Regions from separate parts of the Homo sapiens genome. Here all the other regions are linked to region 2. The links are contacts of gene promoters, found by promoter capture Hi-C in blood cells and fetal thymus (Javierre and others, 2016). All regions are on one chromosome and are shown on one strand. The core of a region is centred on a gene start or on the middle of the fragment in contact, and the rest is flanking DNA. Distances in the headings are between cores, read along the strand shown. Region 1 holds the start of THAP1 (THAP domain containing 1). Region 2 holds the start of PCMTD1 (protein-L-isoaspartate (D-aspartate) O-methyltransferase domain containing 1). Region 3 overlaps BPNT2 (3'(2'), 5'-bisphosphate nucleotidase 2).

Evidence for each region. Contacts are between HindIII fragments. The CHiCAGO score rates a contact against its expected background, and 5 or more counts as called.
Region 1: a contact is called between the fragment with the promoter of THAP1 here and the fragment with the promoter of PCMTD1 in region 2, in 1 of 17 cell types (total CD8 T cells). The highest score is 9.3, in total CD8 T cells.
Region 3: a fragment that was not itself captured here is called in contact with the fragment with the promoter of PCMTD1 in region 2 in 1 of 17 cell types (activated CD4 T cells); the score reaches 5.5 in activated CD4 T cells.

The regions. Positions count from the first base shown.
Region 1 is chr8:42,841,910-42,846,568 of GRCh38, forward strand. THAP1 (THAP domain containing 1) reads right to left here and starts at 1,416. Exons shown (of 3, transcript NM_018105.3): 1 at 1,115-1,416. The coding sequence starts at 1,185. LOC124901940 (a long non-coding RNA gene) reads left to right here and starts at 1,025. Exons shown (of 2, transcript XR_007060901.1): 1 at 1,025-1,474; 2 at 1,858-3,503. RefSeq lists enhancers at 1,009-1,799, 1,135-1,494 and a silencer at 1,015-1,104. The HindIII fragment of the contact is 1,565 bases long and covers 611-2,175 here.
Region 2 is chr8:51,896,918-51,901,036 of GRCh38, forward strand. It overlaps PCMTD1 (protein-L-isoaspartate (D-aspartate) O-methyltransferase domain containing 1), which reads right to left and starts at 2,119. Exons shown (of 6, transcript NM_052937.4): 1 at 2,013-2,119. PCMTD1-DT (PCMTD1 divergent transcript) reads left to right here and starts at 2,398. Exons shown (of 4, transcript NR_189279.1): 1 at 2,398-2,929. RefSeq lists a silencer at 1,626-2,315 and enhancers at 2,356-2,645, 2,816-2,875, 3,176-3,235. The HindIII fragment of the contact is 4,691 bases long and covers 1-3,629 here.
Region 3 is chr8:56,988,176-56,992,310 of GRCh38, forward strand. The region is part of intron 1 of BPNT2 (3'(2'), 5'-bisphosphate nucleotidase 2); the gene reads right to left. Among named protein-coding and RNA genes, the nearest start is that of BPNT2, 3.6 kb to the right of the region's middle. The HindIII fragment of the contact is 1,224 bases long and covers 1,951-3,174 here.

The sequences.
Region 1 (4,659 bases), core at 166-2,665, 9.1 Mb before region 2:
CATCTCACATGATATCAAACATATTTAAAAAATGCATGGACACTCCCCTAGTAAACACAGATGGCCCCACAGCAAAAAAATAAATTAACTGAAAAGATATTTAACATTTTGCTTTTGTAATTATTTACCTAATTATAAAAGATAATTAGCTAATTACCTATGGCTAATCTGTATAGTTTACCCCTGGATCTGATTTCTTACCTATCATCTGCGTATAGCTGTCAGGAATTCTTGCAAAGAAAACTTAACATAAATGTAATTAAAATTTGTAAACAAATTCAGCTGAATGAAAATGTTATGTCACATTTTACAAGCGTTTATCATAAGTAATTACAACTCTGCACTTTTTTCCTATTTTCAAGAGAATATTTTTGATCCTATCACTTAACTGTGCTACCTACTGGATAAGACAGCTCTGAAAGCTGTGGGGCAGTTTCTTTCGAAAGAGCTTTCTCTATGCACAGGTAATGCCATAATAAATAAAGATCCGTGTGAGTCATTTTATTATGATCCATGTTGTAACTGTCCATATTATCATTATTGTGTGCTGAAAAGATAACGATTTATCTCGGCAGTACCTGAAGCTTTCTCCAAAATACAGGGTCCTTAAAGCTTAGTTCCTAGAGATTGGGGGCAAAAATTCTCCCTGATTTCCCAGCCAAAAAACCCTTAATTGCTACGATGCTGGCCTCCCATCCACGGCAAGGGCGAAAAGTAGTGATTTCTTCGTTTAAAGGCCTTTGTTTCTATTTTAAATTTACCCCTAAGACCATATTAAAACACCTGGCTGCTCTGTGACCCTGGTGGTGGCAAAACCCGCGCCACCCTAGGCATCGCCCGTGGGCTCCGAACGCGTCAACCCAGGCCGTGAGCGAAGCCTGCAACCAGGGCCTGTTCCAGGAGCGCGAGAAACGGCTGCCGCGGCGACGCGCGCCGAGAACGCGCGATCGGGCGGCGGTTCCCAGCGGGACGCGGTGGGAAACGCCCGACACGGCCGGCCCCAGACCCCACCCGCCCCTCGCGCGGACACGCGCCTGGCTCCGCCCCCGGCCCCGCCGGCCGCGCGCCCCCACCCCGGCTGAGACCGGCCCCGCGAGGCGCGCAGGGTCCTCACTTGTGGAAAGAAACGGGCTTGTCCTTGTCGTAGCGGTTCTTGCAGCCGTAGGCGGAGCAGGACTGCACCATCCTTCCGGTCCTCAGGCACTTCACTTCTGCCGCCGCAGAAGGCAGGGGAAGCTGTTCTCAGTGTCGCTGCGCTCGGTTGGATTCCCTCGCTTCTTTTGTAGCTTTGGCCAACAGTTACAGTGATGGTGGCCTCCCTCGGGGGTGACTAGTGTGCCCGTTTTGTTGTTTGCATTAGCAGAAGGACCACAGCCATCGCCCGTCTCCCATCTCCAAGATGGCGGAGGCAGCTTCAACCTCACCTCTCGCGAGGGGTGCGTCCCACTGTCTCTGATTAGCCCCGAGGTCAGAGGTAACGTTTCCTGGGAAGCTAACTATTGGCTGAGGCCAGGTGTTTCCGGCGGTGGCTTCAGAGTTGCCGAAGTGGGCGGAGCCCTGAGCTTCCGGCAGGCAGGAAGGAACTGCTTGTGGGGGGAGGAGGCGCGGCGGGAGGCCGGATTCCTGGGGCATCCTCCAGCCCCGGGCTGTTCCCGTGGGTTAATTGATGCGGACCTTTTCTGGGGCAGCTTACAGTAGGGAACAACTAGGGCCTCTTGGAGAACAGGTGTAAAGCCGAGGTCGTTGGCTGATTGCGCCCATTTCTTTAAAAGGGCGGACACAGATGGTGTATGATTAATAAAATTGTGGAACCTTTTCCCAGAGTGCTAATCTTTATCCCATTACCTGTGTCTTCAGGTATCACAAGTTTCTGTGAGAGCCAACGTGACAGATTTTTAGCAATGAAAAAAGACACACTCGCCAAATCATCTCAATTGCCAACGCAGAAGCGTTTTATATATATGTATGTATATGTATGTATATATGTGTGTATGTATATATGTGTGTGTGTATGTATATATATATATATATATGTAATTTTTTAAATAAATAGAGGCGTTGTCTCCCCACGTTGCCCAGGTCAGTCTGGAACTCGAGCTCAAGGGATCCTCCCATCTCGACCTCCCCATGGGTTGGGATTACAGGAGTTGAGCCACCAGGCTGTCCCTCCCCAGAAGCTTTTCTGAAGGCTCTCCATTGCTGTGATTTCCATGTGCTGTGTTGCAAATAGCGAACTGCTGCAGCAATTTTCACACCTGAGAGAGAATATGTTAGAGGGGTTCGAACTAGAGCGACTCTGTGTTGAGTGAGGGCTAGGAAAATGAGGCTGGGACTTGCTGGGCTGCATTCCCGGGAAGTTAGGTATTCCTAGCCTCTAGATGTGTATACCATTAAGGCAACAGATTGATAATGTTTACTACACAGACCCAGACTACCAAGTGTCCAGATATCCCGATATTTTGAGAACAGAAGCATTCCTAATTTTGCTTTAAAGATAATAATATTGGGCTGGGCACAGTGCCTCACGCCTGTAATCCCAGCACTTTGGAAGGCCGAGGCGGGCGGATCACTTGAGGTCAGGAGTTCAAGACTAGCCTGGTCAACATGGTGAAAACGTCTCTACTAAAAATACAAAAATTAACCGGGTGTGGTGGCACATGCCCTCGAATTTCAGCTACTCTGGAGGCTGAGGCAGGATAATCGCTTGAATCCGGGAGGCGGGGGTTGCAGTGAGCCGTGCTTGCACCACTGCACTCCAGCCTGGGCGACAGAGTAAGACTCTGTCTCATAAATAAAGATAATATCGATTCTTACATAATATAGTAATTAATCCTTTATCACAAACCCTTGTAGCAAAGCACATCTCCCCATGATCTTTTTTTATCCTATATATAAACTAAGTGTTGTACTTAGGGTGGACGCGTTCCTCCTCTTACTTTCGGGAATGCCCTACTCTGTCTGTGGAGTAGCTGTACTTTCACCACTTTACGTTCTTAATAAACTTGCTTTTGCTTTGTACTGTGGACTTGCCCTGAATTCTGTCTTGCGTGAGATCCAAGAACCCTGTCTTGGGGTCTGGATTGGGACCCCTTTCCTGTAACAGTTTTACTTCATTCCCTGCTCCTTTTCTTTATATAGATCTGAGCCAGGCAGACCTGGAGAGCGGACTGTTGAGTAATCCCTTGGCCCTTATTCTCTACCTTTCCTGCCCTTTTAAATGTTGCTGTTTCCCCAGGGTTCCATCTTCTGCCCTCCTCTAACTCCTAAACACCCTGCTCCTTAAACTGAACCAAATACCATAATTCTCTCATCTTTTATTTCCTTTGTATATCCGTTCTGCCTTTGGGATTATCATCTGTGAATTATCATCTGTGAATTATCTGTTCAACAGTTGTCTAAACCAGAAACCTTGGAGTCATCTTGGATTTTTTTTGTCACCCATAAAACCCGTTGATGACCAGGTTAATTTTGTAGACTAAATAAATAAATGCCCCTTAAATCCATCCCTCTTCATGTCTCCTCACTGTTGTTGTTGTTTTTTTTTTTGTTTTTTTTTTTGAGAGGGAGTCTCACTCTGTCGCTCAGTCTGGAGTGCAGTGGCACAATCTCAGTTCACTGCAACCTCCGCCTCCTGGGTTCAAGCGATTATCCCGCCTCAGCCTCCTAAGTAGCTGGGATTACAGGCACCCGCCACCATGCCTGGCTAATTTTTGTATTTTTGTAGAGATGGGGTTTCACCATGTTGGCCAGGCTGGACTCGAACTCCTGACCTCAGGTGATACGCCTGCCTCGGCCTCCCAAAGTGTTGGGATTACAGGCGTGAGCCACTGCGCCCAACCCTCACTGTTCTTTAATTATTTTTATTATTATATTTAACAGAGATGAGGTCTCACTGTGTTGCCCAGGCTGGTCTCAAACTCCTGGGTTTAAGCTATCTGTCAGCCAGGGCCTCCCAAAGTCCTGGGACTACAGGCGTGAGCCACGGCACCTGGCCTCCTCACTGTTCTTGACCAAGCTCTCATGGTCTTAACCTTGCAGCAACCCCTTAACTATCCTAGTCTCCAGTTTTACCTCTCTCCATTCTATCTTCTATAGAAGGGTGGTGCATGCCTGCCACGCCCTTGCTCATATCCTTCCAAGGCTACCTGCTGTACTGAATAAAATCCAAACTTCTTATGGTGAATTATAAAGCTCTTTAAGACCAAGTACTTCTACTCTTCCACCATCATCTCCCTCCACTTGTCTTTACCTTTGTTCCGGCTTTATGTCTTAGAGGGTAGGCTCTTTTGTGGTTTCTTTAAATAGGCTGTTTTCCTTGGCTTGAAATGCCCATCCCTGACCTGTCCACCCTTAAGATGTGGCTTAATGGCCTGGTGCAGTGGCTCACGCCTGTAATCCCAGCACTTTGGGAGGCTGAGGCGGGTGGATCACATGAGCCCAGGTGTTCAAGGCCAGCCTGGGCAACATAGTGAGACCCTGTCTCTACAAAAAAAATACAAAAATTAGCCAGGCATGTTGGCACACACCTGTAGTCCCAGATACTTGGGAGGCTGAGTTGAGAGGATTCCTTGAACCCAGAAGGTTGAGGCTGCAGTGAGCTGTGGTCATGCCTTTGTACTCCAGCCTGAGCAAACAGAATGAGACCCTGTCTCAAACAAG
Region 2 (4,119 bases), core at 869-3,368:
TTCTTTTACTCAAAGCCTCTATTTATTACTCTATAGAATGAGAAGAATGTCATTTATGTTGTTATGAGAAATATATGAGCATATTATTACCAAAAATAACTAAAATGTCATGGATTTTTTTATTCCTTTCGAGCACAGTTTCCAAATCATAAAATACTACACAATTTGGCTTAAAATTTCAGGCTATGCATGTTTAGAACCAGACGTTGTTCGTGATTATCTTCCTCAGTTGTTCTTTCCCTGGAAGCTAGCACCAAGATGAACACAGTACATTTTTAATAAATACAAGCTAGTGATTAAATCAACAAAGCCTCCAGCTCTTCTGCACACAGAAATACAGTATGCAATGGGAATTTCCTAGCTTTCTGTCTTACTTAATAGTAGGCAGTGTAGTATCACCCCTCCACTTCCAGTTTACTCCCTATAGCTTACTTACCAAAATATTTAATCCCTGTTGCTTTTTTTTTCTTGTCTCAGGCTAGGGCCACTAGCTTTCTATCTTTCCTACCTTACCTTTCCTTCACATATTAGCTACTTCATGTTAAAGAAATTACAAGTGTTCAACTGACCATATGGAATTAAAATTTACTTAGAAAAAAATGAAATAAAAAAAACCAAAAAGTAAACTAATTCAGCAACTTTATGTTTTATGGAGTCATCTAGCCTCATGTAAACTACCATTAAGCAATACGTAAACATATTAATCTGCTTAATACGAAAGTAATGTCGTCTGGCCGCAGACATTCTGAAAGTTTTGCCACATTGTTTCAAAATATTGGCTTGTAGCCCTTTTCAAAGCTACTGATTATTGAAAACTTGGCGACCATGTTTAACAATGAAGAAAAGGCTTCCCCAAGCCTACGTAGATTGGATTCTCTAATACATAGTAATAATGTTTTTTAAAATAATGAGGTGTGTAATAAAATGGAGGAATATCCATGATGCATTGTTGGCTAATAAAACGATATACTGTACTATATATGATCCCAATCTTGTTTCTAAAGCACACTCATTAAATGCACAGAAAAAAAAAATCCTGAATAACTACCCACCACACTTGGAGACTGGCTACCCTGGGTAGTAAGAAGGAGAAATATGGGGGGAAGGGCGCGAGAGAGGGCAGGTTTCCTCATTGTTTGGCTGCTTCATGTTTTTCTCAAGGAGCAAGCAGTACTTTTGTAATTAAAAAAATAAATAGGGGAAAAACACTGCTAAAAGCATACTTTTTTCCTCCGTAGCAAATTCTTCTGATTTGTAATGTTAAAAATATATCTCTGGTTTCTCGATTCTAAAAAGAGGACACACGAAAACAAAATTATAGAAGTTCCAAAAAATCTTGGATTTGCAAAATTACTCCCTCGGGTTCTGCCCGTGGGTCCTCCCCATGCCGGTGTCTGAAATTCCCCAAGCAAAACGCGGGCACTGCACTTCCCCGGAACGGTAGTAGACGCTCAAAAACACAAAAAGAGGCCTTGGCGCCTGCTATAACCTCTCAGTCCCCTCCCAGCCCCCGAGACTTCCCCGAGTCTACGTAGACTGGATTCTCTGCCTCCAAAACCAAAACAGAAGTCACTGGGCGGATCCAAAACGGCCCTAAGGGGCCCGCGGGCATCTCAAGACGCCAGCCTCGGGACTCTGGTCCCCAAGCCCAGGTCAGAGCCGAGGACGAGCCGAGGACGGGCCGAGGACGCGGCGCCCCGGCCTCCCTCGGGCCCCCGACCTCCCCGGCCCCAGGGACCCCGGCTCCCGACCTCCAGGCTTCGCTGGGCCCCTTTCGACTCCCCGACCTCCCAAGTCCTCCGCCCCCGGCCCGTCCTTCCCCCAACCTGCCCCGCAGCGCCTCAGTTTCCTGGCCCCCGACCTGCCCGCCCTTAAGTCCCCCTGCCCCCGACTCTTCGGCTGCCGTCCCCCTGGCCCTCTGGCCTCCAAGCGCATCCCAGTCGCCCGCCCGGCCCTAGCACGCGGGACTCGCACACCCCACGACCCCGAGCCCCCACTGGCGGCGGCGTTACCTGTGGCGCGGGCAGCGGCGCGCAGGCCAGGCGCTAGGACTCGGCGGGGTCCGCAGCAGCCAGACGCCGCTACCACCACAATAACAACACGGACGCCACCGCCGAGTGGAGAGGCGGGGCCCGGACCCGCGACTGGAGCAGCCAGAGCCTCCCGGACTCCGGAGCCGCCGGGGTCCGGGCATGCGCAGAGAACCACGGGCACAGGGGCAGCTCCCCGCGGACGCCAAAGTCAACAAGGCCGGGAGACGCCCCCATCTGGCCCCGCCCCCCTCAGGGCTCGCTCCGCCCCCAAGCCCAAACAACGCGAGGCCTTGACAGGCCAGAAGACGATGGCGGTAGGGGAGATCACGCGAGAGCATGGCCTCCACCTCTCCTCCCCACCGCCATCTCCACGTTCTCGCACCGGCGCTGGGGTGCAGGCTTTCAGTGGTCTCAGGGCTACGGCTTGTCGGTGCCTCGCCGCACAGTCCCCTTTGCATTGAAGGACACGGTCTTACGGTGTAGGAGCATTTTTGAGGTGCATTCCTGGATTTGGAGGCGAACCCCCAATGGTTACCTCCACAGAGGCTTTGCGAAGGGCGCTCACTGACTTAGGTGAAGAGCGAAGGCTCAAGACTGTGCCGCTTTATAGTGGCCCCTTGACGTCCAGAAGTTCCCCCCAGCGCCGGTCATAAGCACTCCCGCCGCCTGGGCCCCGCCCTGCCTGCCAGGCGCCCTCCAGCCTCAGCTCCCGGACGCCCGGCGTGGCCGCTTTCTCGCGTCTTGCTGACCCGGGCCGGGGGCGTGTGCTCCTCCTGCAGCGGACGGAAGATGCTGGGCCACGCAAGTTTCCCTGGGCTTGGTTAACCACCCCAAAGCCCATTTCCAGAAGGAAAGGGTGTTGAGGAGGAGGGATAGAAAGTCGAGAAGAGGGCCGGGTGAGTGGCTCACGCCTGTCATCCCAGCACTTTGGGAGGCCGAGACAGGCGGATCACCTGAGGTCAGGACTTAGAGACCAGCCTGGCCTACATGGTGAAACCCCGTCTCTACTAAAAATACAAAAATTAGCCGGGTGTGGTGCCGTGCGCCTGTAGTCCCAGCAACTCGGGAGGCTGAGGTAGGAGAATCGCTTGAACCCGGGAGTCGGAGGTTGCAGTGCTGAGATGGCACCTGGCCTGGGCGGCAAGAGCGAAACTCCATCTCAAAAAAAAAAAGAAGAGGAAATGAGGCATAGGGGCAGGCGAGCCGGGAAAATATTGCTACTAAGGATCCTAAGCAGTGAACATGCTGTTAATACTTGTAAGACTCCTAGCAAACTGCATTTAATTTTTTAAATTAGTTTTAGTGTACATAAAGGCATGTCTTTTCCAAATACTGTACTTTTTGAAGTGTTCTTTGTTGTTCATTAATCTTTGTGCGTTTCCCTTCAGTCTCTAATAGTAGGTTGTAGCATGATTTGCTTCCATCGTGTGAATTCTGTTCGGTTTTGATTTTCAAGTATGAGAGTGAGCGTAAGCTACCCTTATAGGTTACCTAAGGTAAGTTAGAATTAGAACGTCTTTATGCTAGGGTTACTACTCCCCACCATAACCAACCATCTGCAAAAGCGTTCAGAAAGAACATGCTAGCAAGGTCAAAAGCTTCAAATCACGAAATAAGAACTTGAAAACGAGCAAAATTGCTGCTGAGGCGCTCTGCCATTTAACTCAAAGGCTTCACTTTATTTAGGTTTAAAGTATGAGTGCATATTCAGTGGACATTGAGCTCCGAACTGTTCAAAATCTCTATTCATCTGCATTCTGGAGTAGAGCTGCGGGTCACATTATTAGCTCCATCTTTGGATTTCTGCCTGGACCCAGGGCACTCCTAACCGTTGTGGGATCATATAACAATCTTACAGGATGAATTTTCTGTTAGTCCAAGCAGAAATTTTGGCACATGAAAACTATCTTACCATAAACAAACAAAAAAAGTACAAATGGTAATCTAAGGAAAATAGCTAAAATCATTAAACAACTCTTACAGCCGTTTCCCCTGTTTTCTCTCCATTTTTTAAAAGCATATTTTCCTTTACTTTCTTCCTTCTGCTATGGGAATTTTTCAGGGTTCTAGACCTTTTTTCTCTTCT
Region 3 (4,135 bases), core at 1,313-3,812, 5.1 Mb after region 2:
AAAACAAATATACCAAAAAGAAAGCACAGAACCTTCTCTTAGGAAACATAATACACCTAACACCCCAGCCAACTTCCTTAAAAGCCCAATTTCTCACAAAACTTGTCTTTACTCACAGTCTCCATTTCCTCACCTCCTAATCATAGGTTGCCTGAGTTCAAATGCCAACTCCTCAATTTATTGGGTATATGAATAATTTAGGCTAGTCACCTAAACTTTCTGAGCTACAATTACCTCATTGGTAAAAAGGGACAATGATCTAGCTCCCTGTAAGGTTCTTAAGAAGACTGAAAGAGAAAAGGTAAAACAAACTTAGTACAGTGCTTAACACAGAGTAAGCATTTAATAAAGGTTGGTTGCTACTATTCTTGTTAAATGATTGTTTTCAGTCTTCATTATCCTTGGTTCTAGGCCCTGATATTCCCCTTTCATGTTATATTCTCTCCCTAACCAATTCTGTCCACAACCAGTTTCAATTAACATCACAACACCGATGACTCGCAGATTTGTATTTTCAGTTCAGATGTTTCTTCAGACCTTCAGACTCATATATTCAACTGACTCTTTGACAGCTAACCTTGGACATATCAAAGGCATCTCTAACATAGCAAGTCTAAAATGGCATTCATAATCTGTCCTCCAACTTAACCACCACTCCCCTTCACCAGCAACAAAACCCCAATTGTGAAAGCTACAGAGGAGTTATTTTTGACATATCCCTAAAAATTCTTTCACTTCCTTCTACATCTATCTTCTCTACAACCATAACCCTAATTCAAAAGATATAAGCTCTCACCTGAAAAAGGGCCTCCTAACTGGTCTCCCTGTATTTACTTTGCTCCCCTCCAAACCATCCTCCAAGCAACTACTCTGAGTCCTTCCATTCATTTTTAACACTGTAGTTAAGAGTATACTTGTTACATCTGCTATACCGCCTTATATAGAGAATTAGACAGACCTGAGATGATTCTCTGACCATTATGTCAATCTCAGTGACTCTAAGATTATTCTCATGGTGAAACCCCGTCTCTACTAAAAATACAAAAAATTAGCTGGGCGTGGTGGCGGCACCTGTAGTCCCAGCTACTTGGGAGGCTGAGGCAGGAGAATGGCATGAACCTGGGAGGCAGAGCTTGCAGTGAGCTGAGATTGTGCCACTGCACTCCAGCCTGGGCGACAGAGCGAGACACCATCTTTAAAAAAAAAAAAAAAAAAAAATTCTAGCTGGACAATCTTTGGCAAATTATTTAGCCTCTCCAAGTCTTTATCTGAAAAACAGAGGCTGTAGTACTTAACCTCCTTTGTTGTTGTGAAGATAAAATTAATAATGTCATTAAGAAGTTTAATTCAATTTTTGTGGCTTGCAGAAGGCTATGCAAATGTTAGCTAGTAAAACAAGCTCAGCATAACTTCCCCACTGCTTGAGTCCTGGTCCTCATCTCTCCCATGGCCTGTTTTAACAGTCTCTAACTAGTTCCTATCTACCTCCAAATGCCCAAAGCCCAAAGTATGGCTTATTGCAGGCCTCAAGAAAAGTCAGCTAAATCTGGCCTTCTTTTAGTATTCTACTAGTAAACCATGGACTAGGTCCAAATTCCTTTGAGCTTGGAATATGACCTAGCCCCTACCTACCTTTCCAATCTCTTCCACAATAATTCTCCCAAGTGCATTTTACTCAAACTCATTAGATTACAAGAATTAGCTGTCCTACTATCTCTCTTGGGCCTGTTCCTTTGAACTAGATTCTTTTCCTCTGTTTTCAGTGCTTATGTCTACACCAATTACTAGTTATTCTGATTTTACAGAAGAGGAAACTATGGCTCAAAAAAGTTAAATGACTGGCCAGTACCACCTAGGCTGGTGACTGCACAACATGTCAATGCAAGTGCTCTGTGCACTATATTAGTGCTTCTCAAACTTTTCTGGGACATACTTCTGTTGAAAGAGAGAAGCTTAACTTCCATCTTATAGGTCAAGGAAGGCACAGACCCAAGTGGCTGCTACCAGCTTGGAGTACCATGCTTTACCTTCAAATAAGTCATTGTCAAAACTTTGAACAAATCAAGTTGAGGACAGGAGCCCCTCAAACAGACAGTCCCCTGTACATTAAATCAAAACTATAAATCTCAGTTTGTCTGTTCTGTGGCTGCAAACCCACTCCACAAAAGTATCTTCAGCCTTCATTTTCATTGTTACCTGCAAGGATAAAGAGACAGTGCCATACAAATGGCTGGAGTTACTATTACTTTGACACAATGAAGTCAAGCATTGCCAAAGTGTTTAGGAAGAGGAGACTAGCTGCCCAGAGGACTCTCTGGGATCTCTAACCTGAAGAAAACTGAAGACAAAAGGAAATCCAGGGAGCCTAGGTGAAATCTGAGTTTTGTTAGGATAGCACTCACTTCTCTGGAGTATGATTCCTCAACTTGGGCATCAATTGACAAATGGAGCAGATAATTCTTCGTCATAGGGGGCTGTCCTGTGCATTATAGGATGTTTACCCTCTACCTACTAGATGCCAGTAGCATCCCACCCCTGGTTGTGACAATCAAAAATGTCTTCCGACGTTGTCAAATGTCAGTTAGGGGACAAAACTGTCTCCAGTTGAGTGCTCTAGGATAACCCCTGGTATATCCTTTTACTGAGGAGTGAACATTACATACGAAAGCTCAGACTTCAGACTCTACATAGGAAAGTAGTGGGAGAAAACAGATCTTTCTACATTTACATAGGGCACTAGGATAAAAGAAAGAAGTATCTGTTGCTTCTCAATGGTCTTTTTCCACTAGGAAGTAAACTAAGTGGGATATAATTTAAGTTTCTTACCAAGAAATTTGGGGTGAGGCTTCAAAATTAACCAGGGATTTAAGACTGTACTTCTGGGCATTAGGAGAGGGGAAGGCAAAAAAGGAGAAAGACTCCTTTTAGGTTGATTCTCCACTTAGTTGGCTACAATATTTGGCCTCTAGCCTATAACACAGGGGTATAAGGAGATCGCTCAACATGACACCATCCCTACTTTGACACTGTATAAATGATCACAAACCTCTTCTATTCCTTCAGTCATGACCCAACATGAATACTACAGAAGCACATGCAAACATTCAAATAGTCACAAGAAAACAAGAAGTTGTTTTATATTAAGCCAGAGACTTCAACATCTGCAATTCCAAAAGCTTAGCTTTTATGTTAATAAAATGCAGCTCACTGCCCTTGGCAGCCATTCCCTTATTGTTTGCTAATAAATGAGAATGCACACACATACAGATGTGTTTTCAACATTTAAGATACTTTTGTTTTTACTTAAAAAAAGAAAAATCAACTCTGCTTGCTGTATTTCACTATTACTGCTTTTAAGCTTCTACAATTATAAGTTTTAAATAGCCTTCTAAAAATCTAGCTAAAATGTGGGATAGTTCATATAAGCTGGAGTGTCACGAGCCTCAGATTTCCCGTTTGTATAGTAGGCAGAAATAAAATTTACTTCTTAAAGTTGCTGTTAAGGATCAAATGAAGTCCTGTGTAGCCAGTATTTGGGCATGTAAAATATATTCAATAAATGGTTATTATTAGTACTGTTATAACCATTAAATAGCAACTTCTCTGAATCTCCTGTTTCCTCTATAAATTCTTGGGGAAGGAAACACGTATGTTTTGGAAAGGGGGTAAAATATTTCATAAACACACCTTACATCTAGATGCAAAAAAATTTAAGTATTATTTGTGATGATAAAAACAGAGTAGGGAAGAAGAAAAAGTGGAAATATTCTGTGTTTTAAGTAGAAATTTGAAAAAAAAAATTCTAACGTTAATTACATCTGGTATCCAGTAGCTCATGTTAGGAAATACAATGTTCCTTTCCACTGGAAAAAGAAAAAGACGAAAGAAAAGGGAGGAAGAGAGGAGAATAAAAAACAAAACCAAAGCAATATTATGATAGACTGGAAGAAGCCTTATGCAAAATACATAACTAAACAATGACAATATTCTCCTAACTCTTTCAAGATCAGCAGTAAAAGGTCAGTCACCTTCCAAAGAAGCCTGGGTTTGCACATCACTGTTTATCTAATAAAATTCCAGTGAAGACAATTTTTCTTCCCAGTAGCCAAAACTACAGTTAGGTGAGTTAAGATAT